2 separate regions of the Homo sapiens genome follow, and region 2 is linked to region 1. The links are contacts of gene promoters, found by promoter capture Hi-C in blood cells and fetal thymus (Javierre and others, 2016). All regions are on one chromosome and are shown on one strand. The core of a region is centred on a gene start or on the middle of the fragment in contact, and the rest is flanking DNA. Distances in the headings are between cores, read along the strand shown. Region 1 holds the start of KRT33B (keratin 33B). Region 2 holds the start of LOC105371777 (a long non-coding RNA gene).

Evidence for each region. The method cuts DNA at HindIII sites, captures the fragments that hold promoters and counts their contacts. A CHiCAGO score of 5 or more calls a contact.
Region 2: a fragment that was not itself captured here is called in contact with the fragment with the promoter of KRT33B in region 1 in 12 of 17 cell types (neutrophils, M2 macrophages, total B cells and 9 more); the score reaches 8.9 in neutrophils.

Annotation. Positions count from the first base shown.
Region 1 is chr17:41,368,131-41,372,248 of GRCh38, forward strand. KRT33B (keratin 33B) reads right to left here and starts at 1,683. Exons shown (of 7, transcript NM_002279.5): 1 at 1,273-1,683. The coding sequence starts at 1,620. The HindIII fragment of the contact is 2,505 bases long and covers 288-2,792 here.
Region 2 is chr17:40,846,954-40,851,071 of GRCh38, forward strand. It overlaps LOC105371777 (a long non-coding RNA gene), which reads left to right and starts at 3,845. Exons shown (of 3, transcript XR_934754.3): 1 at 3,845-3,907. The HindIII fragment of the contact is 1,881 bases long and covers 1,450-3,330 here.

The DNA of each region.
Region 1 (4,118 bases), core at 433-2,932:
ATTTGATCATAAAACTGATCATTTCAAAACCAGGACAACCAATGTGAATTCATCATGAATTCTATTCTTATCTGCTTCTGGCTTCCTGCAATAATTAGGTTACTGGGTATCCAACCCTTCGGTTGGGTGACCAACCATCCCAGTTAACTTAGGACTGAGGGGTTTCTGGGATGCTAAAATGGGAAAAATCCCAGGCAAGCCAGAACAACTTGGTTATCCAACACATTCCACCTGCTAACTTCTCTCCACTCTCCCCTCATATTGCCCTTGTTCATGCCTTTGCAAAAAGCTTCTTGCTGTACCCAGAATGCCCTCACCCACTAGCAAGACCCCTTGTGTAACCCACATACTTAATCAATAACACTTCTTATGACCTTTGTGTGATCATTTTGTTTCCACATCTATCTCCCCTGTTAGACTGTGAGCTCCTGAAGGAAGGAGACTGTCTTACTCAGTACATTATCCCCCACCCCAGCACTGTGCCTAACACTCTCCAACTCTGGGTAAATAAATGAATGATATTCAAATAGCACAACCCCTTTCTGGCATCTAATTTTCCAGATCTACAGAACAGTGGGCAGTCAATTCCCTCCCAGAATCAAGGGCTTGTACAATTGGATATAAACTCCCACTCATCCTTCAAACCCCACTCAGACATTGCCTCTTCTGGGATCCCTCCCAAACCTACACCAGGTATTCAGTCCCAATTCTCTGTGGACTCTTTACTTATATCTACTTCTCTTCCAGAACAGATGGCCCCATATTGTCATCTGTACACATGGCTGCTCTAGAGGATGGTCCATGTGTCTGTAGATATTGCTGGAGTCAACAGCTCTCTTGTGTTGCCATAAATGCTATATTTTGCTACAGCTTTGAAAGGCTTTAAATATTTGAAGATTTACTTAGGAAATTCTTAGCATAGAAAATAATTCAGGTGCATACTTTTTGAAAATGCGGTAATGCTCTGAAAACAAAACCAGGGTATCATAATCAAACCAAAAAATCAGATATTCTGGTTTGGAGTAAGACGCCATATAAGATTGCTATGACTGATTTTGGTCTAATGCTTCACTCTAACACCAGCCTGCATCCTTCCTTTGTGGCTCTACAACAGATTTTCTAAGACTACTTGATGTCATACCTAAGCCAGTGAATCTATGTCTTTATCATTCTCAGCATTACTGTGAACAGACTTAGATCCATTCACAGTTTAGTATGTCAAATATAGATAAGTAGTTCATTAAGCTGGCAGTGTGGTGCCCACCTCCTCACCTTCTGCTGGAGCTCCTCAATGGTCTTGAAGTAGGACTGGTAGCTGGGGCACAGCAAGGGCTCCTGCTGCTGAGACCGCTCCCGGATGAGGTTCTCCAGCTCCGCGTTGTCCCGCTCCAGCTGACGCACCTTCTCCAGGTAGCTGGCCAGGCGGTCGTTCAGGAACTGCATAGTCTCCTTCTCGCTGCCATTGAAGGAGCCCTCGCAGAACCAGTTGCAGTTGCTCACATTGGCAGGGATGTTGCAGGCCCCGGGCAGGGTGTAGCCGTGGCAGCTGGGGGGCACACAGGGCCGGGAGGAGCAGCTGGTGCGGCAGCTCAGGCTGGGCAGGCAGAAGTTGTAGGGCATGGTGCAGGGAGGCAGTGGAGCTCTGGAAGTCAGTTTCAAAACCTGATTCCTTTTCCCTGGGATAAGCCTTGGTCCTTTCCAGGGCTTTATATTCTGTTAGCAGTGGGTGTGGCAACCATGTCAAGTATTCCTCCTTTTTACCTCCTTTGCTGATTTTTCCATTTGTTATTTAGCCACTTCACCTGAGTCCTATACCTCATTAAATGTTTTACTCTGGCTTCTTGCTAAGTCAGGACTCCTCACAAAACATGCTGATTGGTTAAGTAAGAGCTTCATGGTTTGGCTTCAAAGTGACCAACCTTGCCTGTAGCAGTGCTTATCCATGGGACATTGAGCTAGAGTGACAGCTGGGCCCTGTCCCCAGAGTAGGGGGCACATATGTGCCTCTTTCTCCTAAATGAGGAAAGGCTTGTGTCTCATCCAGTTCATATTCAATTAAGACTCTGTGAGAAAAGCCATGTAAGGAAACCCGTCTAGAAACTAGACTATGTGATAGGGAATCCTGGAAGCTGAAATGAGAAAGGACTTACAAGGCCATTGGTTCAAGGCCCATTTGCAGTTCCATCCAGGCAGATGGAGGCAACTCTACCCTCTTCCTATGGGGCTGCAGGAAGCCACCCACCTCCGTTTCTACTAGTATTCAGTGTTCACAGAACATTAAGAAACCTAAATTTTGGGAGCACCTACTCTGCATGAAGCACTGTGCTCCATGCCTGTGCACAGCGTGACTCTGTCATTGGTGATGGGTCCTGCTTGCTGAGCCTCCACTGTGCACCAGGCACAGTGCCAGGCACCTCATATGCACCAGCTCCTTCAGTCCTCTCAAAATGCTGCAAGGGTTTGTAGATAAGGACCCTAAGCCTCTGAGAGGTCTCCCAAGGTCACAGAGCTCCTACATGATGGAGCCAGGGTTCAAATACAGATCTCTCTAATTCCAATGTCCACACTCTGTCATATTACATGTCTCTCTCTTCCAATCTTTTCAGTACTGAGATGCAATAATGCAAAAAATACAGATTGAGCTCCATTGAGCTCAATCAGTGCTGACAATATCCTAAATTAGAATGGGCCAAAAAATAACAAGCCTGTTTTTTACTTATTAAAGAACCAAAAGTCACTTCTATGCTGAAGGAAGGAAGTTTACTAAGTGAAAATGCCTCATACCCACTAGAAGCTTGAAAAAAAAAAAAAAAGGAAACCCTTGGTTGATCTGAGGGAGAAATACCCAAGCCTAGCTCTCCAAAGGATATGACCCTGAAAATCCACCACTATGTCATGTGCATGAAGTGGCATTTTATGACCATTGGCACATTTTGGCAAGCAGATGCTCTACTCTCATGCATTCCAGATGGAACTATGAAATATGAGGATTTTATGTTTAATCTATCAGTGCTCAAATTCTGAAAGATACTCCTCCAAGTTGTTCCTTTTGGAAGCTACATATTAAGTCTTGCCATACAAGAATTCTTTTCCTACAGGTGACCTGCCATTCCTCAGATCACCCTTCCTTCAAACTTGCCTTCACAGCTTGGGACACATTCTTTTGGTTATCCTCATTGAAGGCCAATCTTCATCTTCTATGGGTGTGTTTATTTTTGGAACCAGCCAGAAGTCATTTGAAACCACACCTAGTGCATAGGGTGAATAACCAAGCTGCATAGCATCTTTAATGGGTCAGAAACAGGTTGTGACTACAAAATAATAATGTGTGTTTTCTTGGGTGACTCTGGAAGTCATTTCCAAGGAGAAGCTTCAAATATGCTTTTATAAAGGACAGCAGCTTTGGGGCAAACATGTGGTCTTCCAGGGTGAATGCATTGAAGGTACTGATATCCTCCCCTACAATCACAATCCACAACTTTCTGCCCCTCCTGCCTGAATCTCTAATTTTTTTTTTTTTTTTTTTTTTTTGGAGACAGAGTCTCACTCTATTGCTCTATTGCCCAGGCTACAGTGCAGTGGTGCAATCTCAGCTCACTGCAACCTCCGCCTCCCAGGTTCAAGCTATTCTCCTGTCTCACCCTCCCTAGTAGCTGGGATTAGAGGCGTGCACCACCTGTAATGTGCCTGGCTAATTTTTGTATTTTTAGTAGAGACAGGGTTTCACTATGTTGGGCAGGCTGGTCTCAATCTCCTGACCTCAGGTGATCCACCCGCCTCAGCCTCCCAAAGTGCTGGGATTACAGGAGTGAGCCACTGCACCCGGCCTGAATCTCTACCTTTAAAATGATTCCACTATCAGTGAGATGTGGCATGGGCATATTGGTTTAAAATCAGTACCAAACCATTAAAGTCCTATTGGATGAGATCAAATAACATAAAGCAAATAGCTGAATTCATTAGCTTTTCTCTAATTACCTTGTGTTCTTCTCTCCTTCTTCTACGTCCCAAGCTTCAAAAGGAAAAATCTGACAATGGCACTTTTTAAAGAAAAGGGAAGGAATAGTGTGTCACAGACTGGTAAATATGTCCACAGGGATCCCTATAACCATTGCTGT
Region 2 (4,118 bases), core at 1,140-3,639, 520 kb before region 1:
ACTGTAAGTCTATCATCAAGTGTCAGGTTACCTCTGGGCATGGTGAAGTCTAGTTTCTGGACCTGCAGGGCTATGAGGAACAGATTCTGGACTGTGGTAAGTTTTTTGAAGTAATTCAAATTTATATTAAATTTGTATTTTAAAAAACCCTTTTGATAATCAATCTAGTCTTGTGGGCAGCTTTTCATTTGCTTCATGATATATTCCTGTACCCTCCATGAGTGGTGTTAGGAAAAATGGCAGTAAGTATTACTTTTAACAGTTAGTTGGTAGAATAATTTACTCACCGTATTCACTAAAAAGCTGATGATTACAAATAGAAAAATAGTTTTAGGAAATGTGGAGCTTAGAGAGAACAAACACAAGTCATTCTTGCTGCCACTCTCCTGTACTCATGTCAGACATTACTAATTGATAACACATCTTCCTGCTGAACCCAGACTGGCTGGAGAATTATTCTTAATAAAATTAATCCAGGAAGCCCACAACCAATTGCCTGAATTGAGCCATGTGAATAAAAACTCTGCCCTTTCTTTCTTTGTTTTTTTTTTTTTTTGAGATGGAGTCTCGCTCTGTCGCCCAGGCTGGAGTGCAGTGGTGCAATCTCAGCTCACTGTAACCTCTGTCTCCCGGGTTCAAGCAATTCTCCTGCCTCAGCCTCCCAAGTAGCTGGGACTACAGGCATGTGCCACCACGCCCAGCTAATTTTTGTATTTTTAGTAGAGATGGGGTTTCACCATATTGGCCAGGATGGTCTCAATCTCTTGACCTTGTGATCTGCCTGCCTCAGCCTCCCAAAGTGCTGGGATTACAGGCGTGAGCCACCGTACCCGGCCCCAAAACTCTGCCCTTTCTAGTGTAAATGAGTTGCTAGGAATTCTGGTCATCAAAATTACAGAATTCAGCTGGAAAGAACCTAAAGTATGATTTATCTTTTGAATTTAATGTCATGGGGGAAGCTAAATATGCTCTTTGGCCAAAAGTCTGTGGATATTCTGACAGAAATAATACCAGACTGGATAAATAGACAAATTATCAGGATAGAATTATCTAGACCAATAATACATTCACTGTTATAGCTTCAACCAGAACAGAATTTGCAAAGGATATTAGAGGTCATTGCCAGGCTTCACCTTCCAGCATTGCCTGTTACAGGGTGTATGGTAAATTGCTTAATCTCTTTTAATCTTCACGTGAGAAATAATATCCAATTCATAAATCTGAGAATACCAATTTAGATAACACATACAAAGTGTTCTTCTACAAAGTGTTCTACACAGTGGGTACTCATAGACATCTGTCCTTTCTTTCTTCTCTTGTTAAATATTCAACACTAAACGGAACCCCTTATCAGATATCTCCAATCTCTACTAAAATATTTCTAGTGATGAGAAACTCATTGTCTCATGAAGCACTTCACCTTCCTTTGAAGTGCTCTAATTATTAAAAAGCTTATCTTTCTATTTAACTGAAATCTGCCACACAGAATATAGCTTTGCTGATGGAGAATCTTTTGGGTATTTGACAAGATTACTCTGTGTTTCTAAGTCTTTTATTTTCCAGGTTATGGATCACCAGTTCATTCAACTGTTCCTTAGATGACGTGGTTTTCAATTCCATTATCATGTAGGTTGCCTTAACTTGGATCACTTCTAAATCTGTAGGATTAATCTGACCTCTCTTTTTCTGTTTCTAGTATTAGCTTAGGGAATATTTTTTAAGGAATGCCTGCTAACTGTGTTTTATCCCATTGCACTTGATCACCAGCATAATGCTACTTCCAAAGATATAACACAGAATTTATTGTTTTCATATGTAAATTTATAGAAACTATTTAAATTTAATAATTAATTATTAGTAACCTATAACCCCCCCCCCCCCCTCACCACTCCTTGGTTTCAGGGTTTGGTTTCAGGGTGGCTCAGGTGTCTTGAACACATTTGTAATGGAAACTTGATAAACTCCTATTTTGGGTTCACCCTCTTTTCTTGGGTGTGGGGCCAAAGTTTGTCACTTAGATTAACTAGTTGGCTTGCAAGCTATAATTATCTTCCTCCTCCAATTAAAATCACATTTCTGTATTGCCACATCTAGTTATTGCAAAATCTAGCAATACACCTTGGATTCTTATTTCCCTCTAAGCAGACTTTCCCTGACGATTCATATTTTTTCTTCTGGGTTGTTCAACTCTTAGGTATTGCTCTTGTCCCACTGCTGAGTAGGACATTGTTTCCAACAAAGATTGATCATTGGGTAATTTACAATATTGTTGGTTTTGTTTTTCTGTGTCTCATTTGCTGTATTAGAATGATTAACACACATTATTATATTATTATTTCTAGATTTGATTAATAGAATTTTGGGTGACTCATATACTCCAGCTATACCTATGTGACAGCATAATTGGATCCAAAATGAAAAATTCAATCAACATAGGGTTTTATTTTTAATTGTGCCAAATGAAAGGCTTAATTAATAATTTTCATTGGATTTTAGCTAATCCGTTTACCGGAATTTTTCAATCATGTGTTATGAATGTATAAACCTAATGTGATATTTCTAAACATCATTTCAACCTACATGTATTTGGCATGCCCACATTTTCTGCCAGATGCTGCATTAAGTACTGGGGACTTATTTCTGGATGGCCAATAATACCTGGCCCAGCCTTTGAGGAGGAATAAGATACAAAAATTCGTCTTCTAAAAAGGAAGTGCAGACTACCTGGGTCAAGGAACTTATGGTTCTCAGCTGGTGTGATGATTACTTAGTTTTATGGGAAAACACTCCAGAGGACACGCTCTTTGGTCCTATTCTTGCCAATCCACTCCCATTTAATACCATATGTTGAAATTTTATGTACTCCTCAAGGCTCTGCTCAGATGCCTTTCTGCTGTAAAGAGTGGTCCTCATATCCCAGCCCTTTATATTACCTCCCTTTTCCAAACTTCTGTGGCAGGTCACTTTATACCTGGCGAGGCAAGGTTATTTGCATACCTGACTAGTCCGCTCCCATTTGCTTCCATAGTGACCAGTAAATATTAGTTTGATTGAGAGAAAAGTGTATTTTACTTATTTTTAATTTTTATTCCTAACTGCTAGACCACCAAAGAGAGAGAGCACAATGTTTTTTAGATAGAACACCTCGTTATTAAGGGAGAACAAGTTCTATTTTGATCTAGATTGGCAGGAGTATTACATTTTCAGACTGAATATTTTCATGGAAAGCCAGTGTTCCATCAGCCATTTTAAGATAACTCAGTTTTGTATCTATGGTTAGGCGATTGCCTACATACAAAGCACACTTTAATGACGAATTAGAGGATTCCAAGCTTGCCTTTATAAGTGAATATCTACAGATTTTTTTTTCTTATAAATACTACATGGAAACCAAGTTACTCTATGTTTTGAAAGCAACTTCTAGTACTCTTTAGATGTATGGGAAAAAGTCCTCAGGTTAATTTCCTTAAGAAAAAGCGTCATGAATTAAAAGACTGCTTGTTGAAACTGAAGATCACTTTCTACTGAGTCACCAGATATTGAGCAATATGATTTATATCAATATGCCTTGTGAAATTGTCAAGTTAAAGATTGTACATATTAGATAAGAAAATTTTGTGTCCCTATAGAGTGACAAGTATCTTGAGGGTTTTCTGGAAATATTGAATTCAACAAATATCTCAGTAAAATGCAAACAACTTCTTGATGGATTTTTTAGTCTCAAACAGCCAGCCTAATTCCTTTATTAAGATTTAAGGAGAAGGAAGTAAGTGGAATTCAATTTCATATGACGCAAGCATATTTTAAATAGAGTAACCAAAACAAATAGATTCAAATGGAATCTATGCAAACCATCCTCTTTGCTTCCTTTGTGATGGACACTCCTTAGCTTCTGCGCCTTAATAAGGTAGGGTTTGTTCATTCAGTCTTTCCAAAGATAAGTGTTGGAAAATTTAGAGTTAATAAATCAGTGGATAAAAATTCAATGACTATTTCAAGAAAATAATAGAAGAAATATATCGCCACCATTCAATGTTTGTGCAACCAGTGTTTATTGAGTGCTTTTAATGGTACCTAGAGAGTAATACAGGTGGTCAAGCACAGTGGCTTATACCTGT